2 separate regions of the Homo sapiens genome follow, and region 2 is linked to region 1. Evidence: promoter capture Hi-C in 16 types of primary human blood cells and fetal thymus (Javierre and others, 2016). All regions are on one chromosome and are shown on one strand. The core of a region is centred on a gene start or on the middle of the fragment in contact, and the rest is flanking DNA. Distances in the headings are between cores, read along the strand shown.

Evidence for each region. The method cuts DNA at HindIII sites, captures the fragments that hold promoters and counts their contacts. A CHiCAGO score of 5 or more calls a contact.
Region 2: a contact is called between a fragment that was not itself captured here and the fragment with the promoter of STK32B in region 1, in 2 of 17 cell types (monocytes and M2 macrophages). The highest score is 6.7, in monocytes.

What each region holds. Positions count from the first base shown.
Region 1 is chr4:5,049,034-5,053,226 of GRCh38, reverse strand. It overlaps STK32B (serine/threonine kinase 32B), which reads right to left and starts at 1,747. Exons shown (of 12, transcript NM_018401.3): 1 at 1,312-1,747. The coding sequence starts at 1,363. RefSeq lists an enhancer at 507-1,045. The HindIII fragment of the contact is 3,285 bases long and covers 535-3,819 here.
Region 2 is chr4:5,145,292-5,149,146 of GRCh38, reverse strand. The region is part of intron 2 of STK32B (serine/threonine kinase 32B); the gene reads right to left. Among named protein-coding and RNA genes, the nearest start is that of STK32B, 96 kb to the right of the region's middle. The HindIII fragment of the contact is 2,933 bases long and covers 605-3,537 here.

The DNA of each region.
Region 1 (4,193 bases), core at 498-2,997:
GGACGGTCATTCAGGGCCATTAGACTAGGAACTCCTTTAAGGAAGGCTCTCGTGGGCCTGACACAGCAGGTGCTCACTTAACCTTGACTGTGTTCATCTATCTTTTTGAGAAGGGCTGTCCAGGCAGGCATCTGAGTAGCACTCACAGCCTTGGGAGTTCTAGAAGCCATCCATGATGTACGCACACAGCCAGTGCCCTGGGTAATGATGACAGGCACAGCTTTCAAAGCAGACTGTCCTGCCTCAAGCCCAGCTCTACTTCTTACCAGCAGTAACCAGGACAGACCCCTTTCTAAGGTAGCCACCTCAAGGGGCATGAAAAGGATGGAGTGAACACTATGTGCTAGCATGGCTGGAACATAGTAAGTGCTCAGTATGTCTCAGCTCTTACCTGGGGCACAGTGGAGACTGGCGAGTCAGCACAGTAGGAAACCAGCTTTGAGAGGCAGAGGGCTCTTAACATAAAAAACGGCACAGCTCGGTACTGCTTGCATTTATAAGGCACTTTTCACGTGGATTACTAGTGGTTAAGCTTCAAACAACCCTATAAAGTAGCTAGTGGTATCATAACTCACATTTCATTGATGAAGGGACTAATGTTTCAGAGAGGTGAAGTAAGTTTTCCAGGGACACGCTGCACTGGAAAGAGGGTTCTGCTAGTCCAAATAGGGAGCTCTATCGACCTGAACCGCAAGGATCCAGCCAGGAAGTTGAGATGCGGTTGGACAGCCTACACCACTTCTGCGCCAGGGGGAGGCTGCCCAGAACAGGACGCCCTCCTAGGAACCACAGAGTTTAGCAAAGAAAAGTTTCCCTCTGTCCTGGGTGATTGAGGAGAGCTGCATCCAACAGGCCCTTGCACGAGACCAAATGCGTCGTGGGCACGCGCACACACACACAGACACACGGTGCAACCCGCCCTTCCAGGCCACCTCCGTCAGCCTCAGGCTCTCAAGGAAACCTCGGTTTCCTGGGGAGCCCGAGCCTAGAACCATCCCGACTGGCCTCCGAAGTCAACTCCTCCCTTCCACACCCCCAAGTGCAGGTTTCGGGTTCAACTCTCTGAAGCCGCCTCCCCAGTCCCGCGCTAGGCACCGTCCCGACTACTAAACGGCACTGGGTACCTAGGAGTTGCCTCAGCAGAAGCGCCGCGCCTGGCACGGGTCGGGCACACACTGCATTCGCTGGGCGAAGTGGCCATGCCTGGGTCCCCGCGCCGGGCAGCATGCGGTGCCCCGCAGGGCTCGGCCGAGGGTGGTGGAGGAAGGGGATGCCCCGCGAAGCGGGAATTCGCACCTCTCGCTCTCTTACCTTCCTCATTCTCGTCAAACACGGGGGGCTTGTGGGAGTGGTTCCCGCCCATATTCCGCCGTTGCTGCCGCTGCTACATGCCCGGCCGCTGGGATGCCGGATGCGGGATGTGGGACGCGCGCAGAGATGCGGGATGCCGGGGGCGCGCCCAGTCCGGGTTGTAGCCGCGCGCGGAGCCCGAGGGGGCCGAGCACCGTGCAGGGGCGGGGACGGCGTCCCCCTTCTCCTGGACGCCCTTCCGACTGCGCTCGCAGGGACCCCGCTCTCGCCGCGCCTTCCGCCGTGCCCCGCCTCGGGCTGCGCTCGCAGCTCCTTACTCCAGTGCCCGCCCGGGAACCCGGGAGCTCCTCGCGCCGGGGCCAACGTGCGGCGCTCCTCGCCGGCTACAGCGGGCGGGAGACGCGAGGCGGCGCGGGAGCAGGGGAAGGAGGGGAAGGAGCGGGGGAGGAGGGGACGGACGAAGGCAGCACGCAGTGGGCGGCGGCAGGGCGGAAGGAGCTGAGAAAGGGATCGGCCCGGAAGAATCTGAATCCCTGCTCGGCCCTCCTCCCTCGGCCGGGAGCTCGGTCCCTGCAGGCAGTAAGCGGTTTGTCAGCACCCACTATGGCCAGGCCTCGGCTACGCGCTTTGTTAGCACCATCCCACATCCGCCTCCGACAACCCAGCAGTAAGAAAGCATCGTTCATATTTTAGAGCGCAGTAGACGGAGGTCTAGAGGTAGAGGGGCTCTTAGGTCTGTGGTTAGTCGGCCCCGGCTGCGAAGGGAGTCCCAGGACTCCCCGCTAGCCTGTATTTGCCCATTCATATTGGGATGGGCAGTGGAGTGTCTGCTGGCTCTCCAACCGACGCTGTTCCTCTTAAGGTTTTTCTCAGTGTTTAATGAATGAAAGTATCTGTTTACTTTCTGACCCCTTAAGATTAGATACTAATCTGACCCCTTCATTGTACATGGGGAAACTGAGGCCCCAGACAGCCATAGTTTGCCCCAAACCATTCTCCCTGGGAATGGCTGGGCATGAGTCTCGGGATTCCCCCAAAATTGGGCGGCATCGGCGTCCGATTTAGGGGCGAGGCTAGCATGAGGGTCCCTGGGCTCCTGCGGCGGGAGCCTGGATCGGGAGATACGCGCCACAGTTGCGGGTGCCTAAGTAAGGGGTGCGGCAGATGCGCCCCAAGACGTGTGGGGCGAGCGCGGGTTCCCAGGACGCTCCCTGAGGGACAGGCAGGTCCCCCTGCCTTGCAGTCCTGCGGGCCCAGCTCTCCGGGACTGCAGGGAATCTTTGGCTACATCCTGCCATCTGCTGGGCGCCTGGAACCACTGTCCGTGCTTTGATAGAAAGCAGGGGTTCTTTGTGACTCTCTCCATCCTATCTCGTCCCCCAGTCCCCGTCCCCTACCTGGTCTCTCTCTCCAGTTCTCTCCCCTTCTTTCTTTTTCTTGGGAGAAGGGTGAGGGAAGCCGGGGAGACTCATACAGAAACAAAACAAAACAAAACAAAACAAAAAATCTCTTAAAGGCAGTGGGAAAGAACTGAGAAGGTCTGAGGCAGGCCCACCCACCATGACCCAGAGCTGGCTCTACCATTTACTGGCAATGTGTCCCACTTTGGAGTTCTTATCTGCAAAGTGGGCTGATTGATATTAACTCCTTGGGTTGTCTGTGAGAATTATATCAGGTAATATTTATAAAAGCAGGCAACAGTGCCCGGCATATAATAAATGATGAATAAATATTTCTTGCCTTTCATTCCACCAACAAGCATACACTGAGTAGCCAGTGTGCAGCAGGCAATGCCCTGAACACAGAGCTGGCCCCTAGCTCAAGAAGCATAGGGCGGAATGTGGACAGGCATGGGCTCTGGGCTCATTCTACCCAGGTTTCATTCTGCTTTGCCCCTCATTAGCCAGTTAACTTGGATAAATTACTTAACCTGTTCTGGACTCAGTTTCTTCATCTGAGTCCAGAAGGTGCTAATAAGAGAACTTTCCCTTTCTAACATTGTTATGAGGAATATATTGATATTGTGCTAGGCCGGGCGTGGGGGCTCACACCTGTAATCCCAGCACTTTGGGAGGCTGAGGCGGGTGGATCACCTGAAGTCAAGAGTTTGAGACTAGCCTGGCCAATATGGAGAAACCCCATCTGTACTAAAAAAACAAAACTTAGCTGGGTGTGATTGCCAGGCCTCTGAGCCCAAGCTAAGCCATCATAACCCCTGTGACCTGCACATATACATCCAGATGGCCTGAAGCAACTGAAGAATCACAAAAGAAGTGAAAATGGCCTGTTCCTGCCTTAACTGATGACATTACCTTGTGAAATTCCTTCTCCTGGCTCAGAAGCTCCCGACTGAGCACCTTGTGACCCTCGCCCCTGCCTCCCAGAGAACCCCTTTGACTTTAATTTTCCATAACCTACCCAAATCCTATAAAACTGCCCCACCCATATCTCTCTTCGCTGACTCTCTTTTCGGACTCAGCCCGCCTGCACTGAGGTGATTAAAAAGCTTTATTGCTCACACAAAGCCTGTTTGGTGGTCTCTTCACACGGACACGCATGACAGAAATGTCACCCACCTGTAATCCCGGCTACTCGGGAGGCTGAGGTGGGAGAATCCCTTGAACCTGGGAGGCGGAGGTTGCAGTGAGCTGAGATTGTGCCACTGCACTCCAACCTGGGTGACAGAGTGAGACTCCGTCTCAAAAAAAAAAAAACAAAAGAAAAGAAGGCATTGGCCAGAGAGGGTGCTGGCGCTGAGACTGGAAGGGCAAGGAATCAACCGGGTTGGAAGAAGAAAGGAGGCTACTGGTGCAAAGTTCTCCAGGCCTAGAGAGTGGGACACTTTGCAGATGCTGGGAGATGTTCCACACGGCTGGAATTAG
Region 2 (3,855 bases), core at 822-3,321, 96 kb before region 1:
AAATTCATGTGTAAATCCTATCAAACATTTTAAAAAGTAACACCAACTTTACACAGCGTTTTAAGAAAATAAAGAAGAAAAATGTCTGAACGCAATAAGCATAAGTAGATTAGAATGGGTACTCTGATCTCAAAGAAAATAAGTTTCAAAATAAAGAGTACTAGAAGAAAAAGAGAAGGATATTTTATAATAGTAGGGACAATTCATCATAAGGAAATAATCATAAATATGTATGCATCTAACAACAAATCTCAACGTATAAGAAGCAAACATTGACAGACTTAAAGGAAGAAGAAATAATTCCACAATCATAGTTGGATATTTTACACAACTGTCCAGAAATAAAACAACTAGATTTTAAAAATCGGCAATGACACGGAAGCTCTGAATAATATTAACTACTTTGACTGGACTAATATTTACTGAATCTTACACCTAACAACTTTTAAATACACATCCTTTTCAAGTGGGTATACTGTGTTTACTAAGGTAGATCATAAGTTGGGCATAAAATGAGTCTCAATTAATACAAATGAATTGAAATTGTAGAGTATGTTCTTGGACCACAATGAAAAAAATTAGAACCAATAACAATAAAAAAGCTTCAAAGACCAAATATTTGGAAGTTAAACAACACATAACTAAATAATTCATGGGTCAAAGAAGCAATCACAAGGGGAATTATAAAATATTATTAACTAAATAATAAAATACAACATATCAAATTTTGGGGGTGTAACTTAAGCAGTCCTTAGAGGAAAATTTATAGCTTAAAATGCTTATATTAGAACAAAATGTCTAAAATCAATGACCTAAGGTTCTATCTTGAAGAGCTAAGATTATAAACTGATGAAGAAAATAAGAGAAAGAAGGCAAACTGCTAATATCAGAAATGAAAGAGAAGTTACAACCACAGACACTACAAAAATTAAGAAGATCCTATGATAATATCATGAATTACTTTGTGCCAACAAATTTGCCAACATAGAGAAAATTGATTAATTTCTTGAAAAATATAACTTACCAAAAGTTATATACGAAAAAACACAAAATCTGAGTGCCTTATATCTACTAAAGAAGGTAATTTTGTAGTCAAAAGCCTTACTAGAAAGAAAACTCTATACCCAGATAACTTCATTTGTAAAACCTATCAAACATTTAAAGAAGTGACACCAACTTTACACAAGTGCTTTCAGAAAACAGAGAAGGAAAATGACTGAACTCATTTTTGAGACTACTATAACCCTGAAAACAAATTTGATGAAGATATTACAAAAAAGCAGACTAATATTCCTTATGAATGTGATGTAAAATTCTCTAATAAGATATTGGCAAATCCAATTCAATAAAACATAAAAAGAATAAGGTATCATATTCAAGTGGGATTTATCTCAGTAATACACAGTTGGTTTAAAATTTGGAAATTAATGTAATTTAGCATAGTAACAAAATATGGAGAAAAAATATGATCATTTCAACCAATGCACAAAAAGTATTTGATAGAATTCAGCAAGACATGATAAACACTTACAGAAAACTACAACTAAAAAGGAGCTGCTCAATTTGATAAAGAGCATCTCTGAAAAACTTACAGGTAAAGATGTTCTTAATGAAGAAAGACTGAACACTTTTTCCCCTAAAATTAAGAACAAAACAATGATGCTTGCTCCCACCACTTCTCCTCAATATTGTACCGAGGGTTTTAGCTACTGCAATAAAGATTTAAAAAGCATAAATAAAGGGGAGAATAGGTAAAACTACTTTTATTAGCAAATAGAATGATTGTTGACAGAAAATCTCCAGAATACTACAAAACAACTATCACAACTAATTATTTAATTAGCAAGGTCTCAGGGTGTGAGATTAAGATACAAAAATTTTATTGTATTTTTATACCTACTAGTAAACAATTAAAAACTAAATTAAAAACAATTTCATTACAATAGTGTCTTCCCCCTGTCCCCCGTACCCCCAAAAAACTTCATCAACTATTTGGGAAAAACATTAGTGCAAAAAAGGGCAAAGCCTCTACCCTAAAAATGACAAAACATCACTAAAATAGACTTTTAAATACCTAATAAAAATAGAGATAAATAAAGAGATATACCATGTCCATGGATTAGAAGACTCCCTACTCTTAAGATATAATTATTTCCAAATTGATATACAGATTTGACCAATTGTAATTCCACAGTTTTTTGTAGAATTGATAAGCAACTCCAAAATTTGTATGAAAATCAATGATCTAGAATATCCAAAACAATCTTGAAAAAGAATAAATGTGGAGGACTTATACTACCTGATTTTAAGACACACCAGAAACCTGCAGTAATTAAGACAGACTAGTACTTGCATAAGGATCAACAAATAGGTCAAATGTACAAAACCGAGAGTACAGAAGAAGACATACAAATCATCTAATTTTTCATATGAACCCCAAAGCAATCTGTGATGGTTAATATTAAATGTCAGCTTGACTGGATTGAAGGATGCAAAGTATTGGTTCTGGATGTATCTGGGTATGTCTGTGAGGGTGTTGCCATAAGAGACTGACATTTGATTAAGTGGACTGGGAGAGAAGACCCATCCTCAGGAAGACCCACCTGCAACACGGGTAGGCACCATCCAATCGGCTGCCAGTCCAGCTAGAAAAAGCAGGCAGAAGAAGGTGCAAGAAACTGACTTGCTGATTCTTCCAGCCTTCATCTTCCTCCTGTGCTGGATATGCTTTCTGCCCTACAACATCAGACTTCAAATTCTTCGGCTTTTGGATTCTTGGACTTACACCAGTGGTTTGCCAGGGGCTCTCAGGCTTTCGGTCACAGACTGAAGGCTGCATTTTCGGTTTCCCTAGTTTTGAGGTTTTGGGACTCGAACTGAGCCACTACTGTCTTCCTTGCTCCTTAACTTTCAGACGGCCTATGGTGGGGCTTCACCTTGTGATCATGTGAGGCAATTCTCCTTAATAAACTCCCCTTCATATATACATATATCCTATTAATTCTGTCCCTCTAGACAATCGTCGTACACAATCCAATAAACAAAAGAAATCATTTTCAAGAAACTGATGTCCATACTAGGGAAAAAAAAAAAAACAACTTGACCCTACCTCACACCACACAAAAAATCAAATCAAAATGAAGTATAGAACTAAATTTATAAGCTAACTCTATAAAACTTTTAGAAAGTAAACATAGAAAAATATCTCTGTGAATTGAGTATGTTTTGGTGAGCCAGGTTTTCTTATACAAATGGCATAAAACAATGGCCCTAAAAGCAAAAGCACTCAACAAATTGGATCTTATCGAAATAGAAAACTTTCATGTATCAAAACACACCACTAATAAAATTAACAGGTAAACCAGTCTGGTTGAAAACAGTCTCATGTCTGACAAAAGACTGGTATCCAGATATGTATCCCACAATTAAATAAGACAAACAACCCATTTTTTAAACAATAGCAAAAAATGCAATACAAATGAATCTCAAAAACATTATGCTGAAAAATTTATATAAAATGTAAAACATTATGAAGCTTTAAACAAAAGACTATATATTGCATGATCCCATTTTATACTAAATTTTAGAACAGGCAACTCTAATCTATAATGGATGGAGTAGTTGACTTTGAGAGAGGTTTTGACAGTAAAGGGTCAAGAGGGGACTTTTGGATGGTGATATTCTATATTTTGGTATGGGTTTAGGTTACTCAGATGCATTTATTTCTCAAAAGTCAATAAATGTAAGTTTAAGATGTGTTCATTCTGTTGTATGTACATTTTACATCAAAAGAAAAACTACAGGCAAATCTCTAGGCTGAAATATTTAAGGAGAAATGTACAAATATTTGCAATT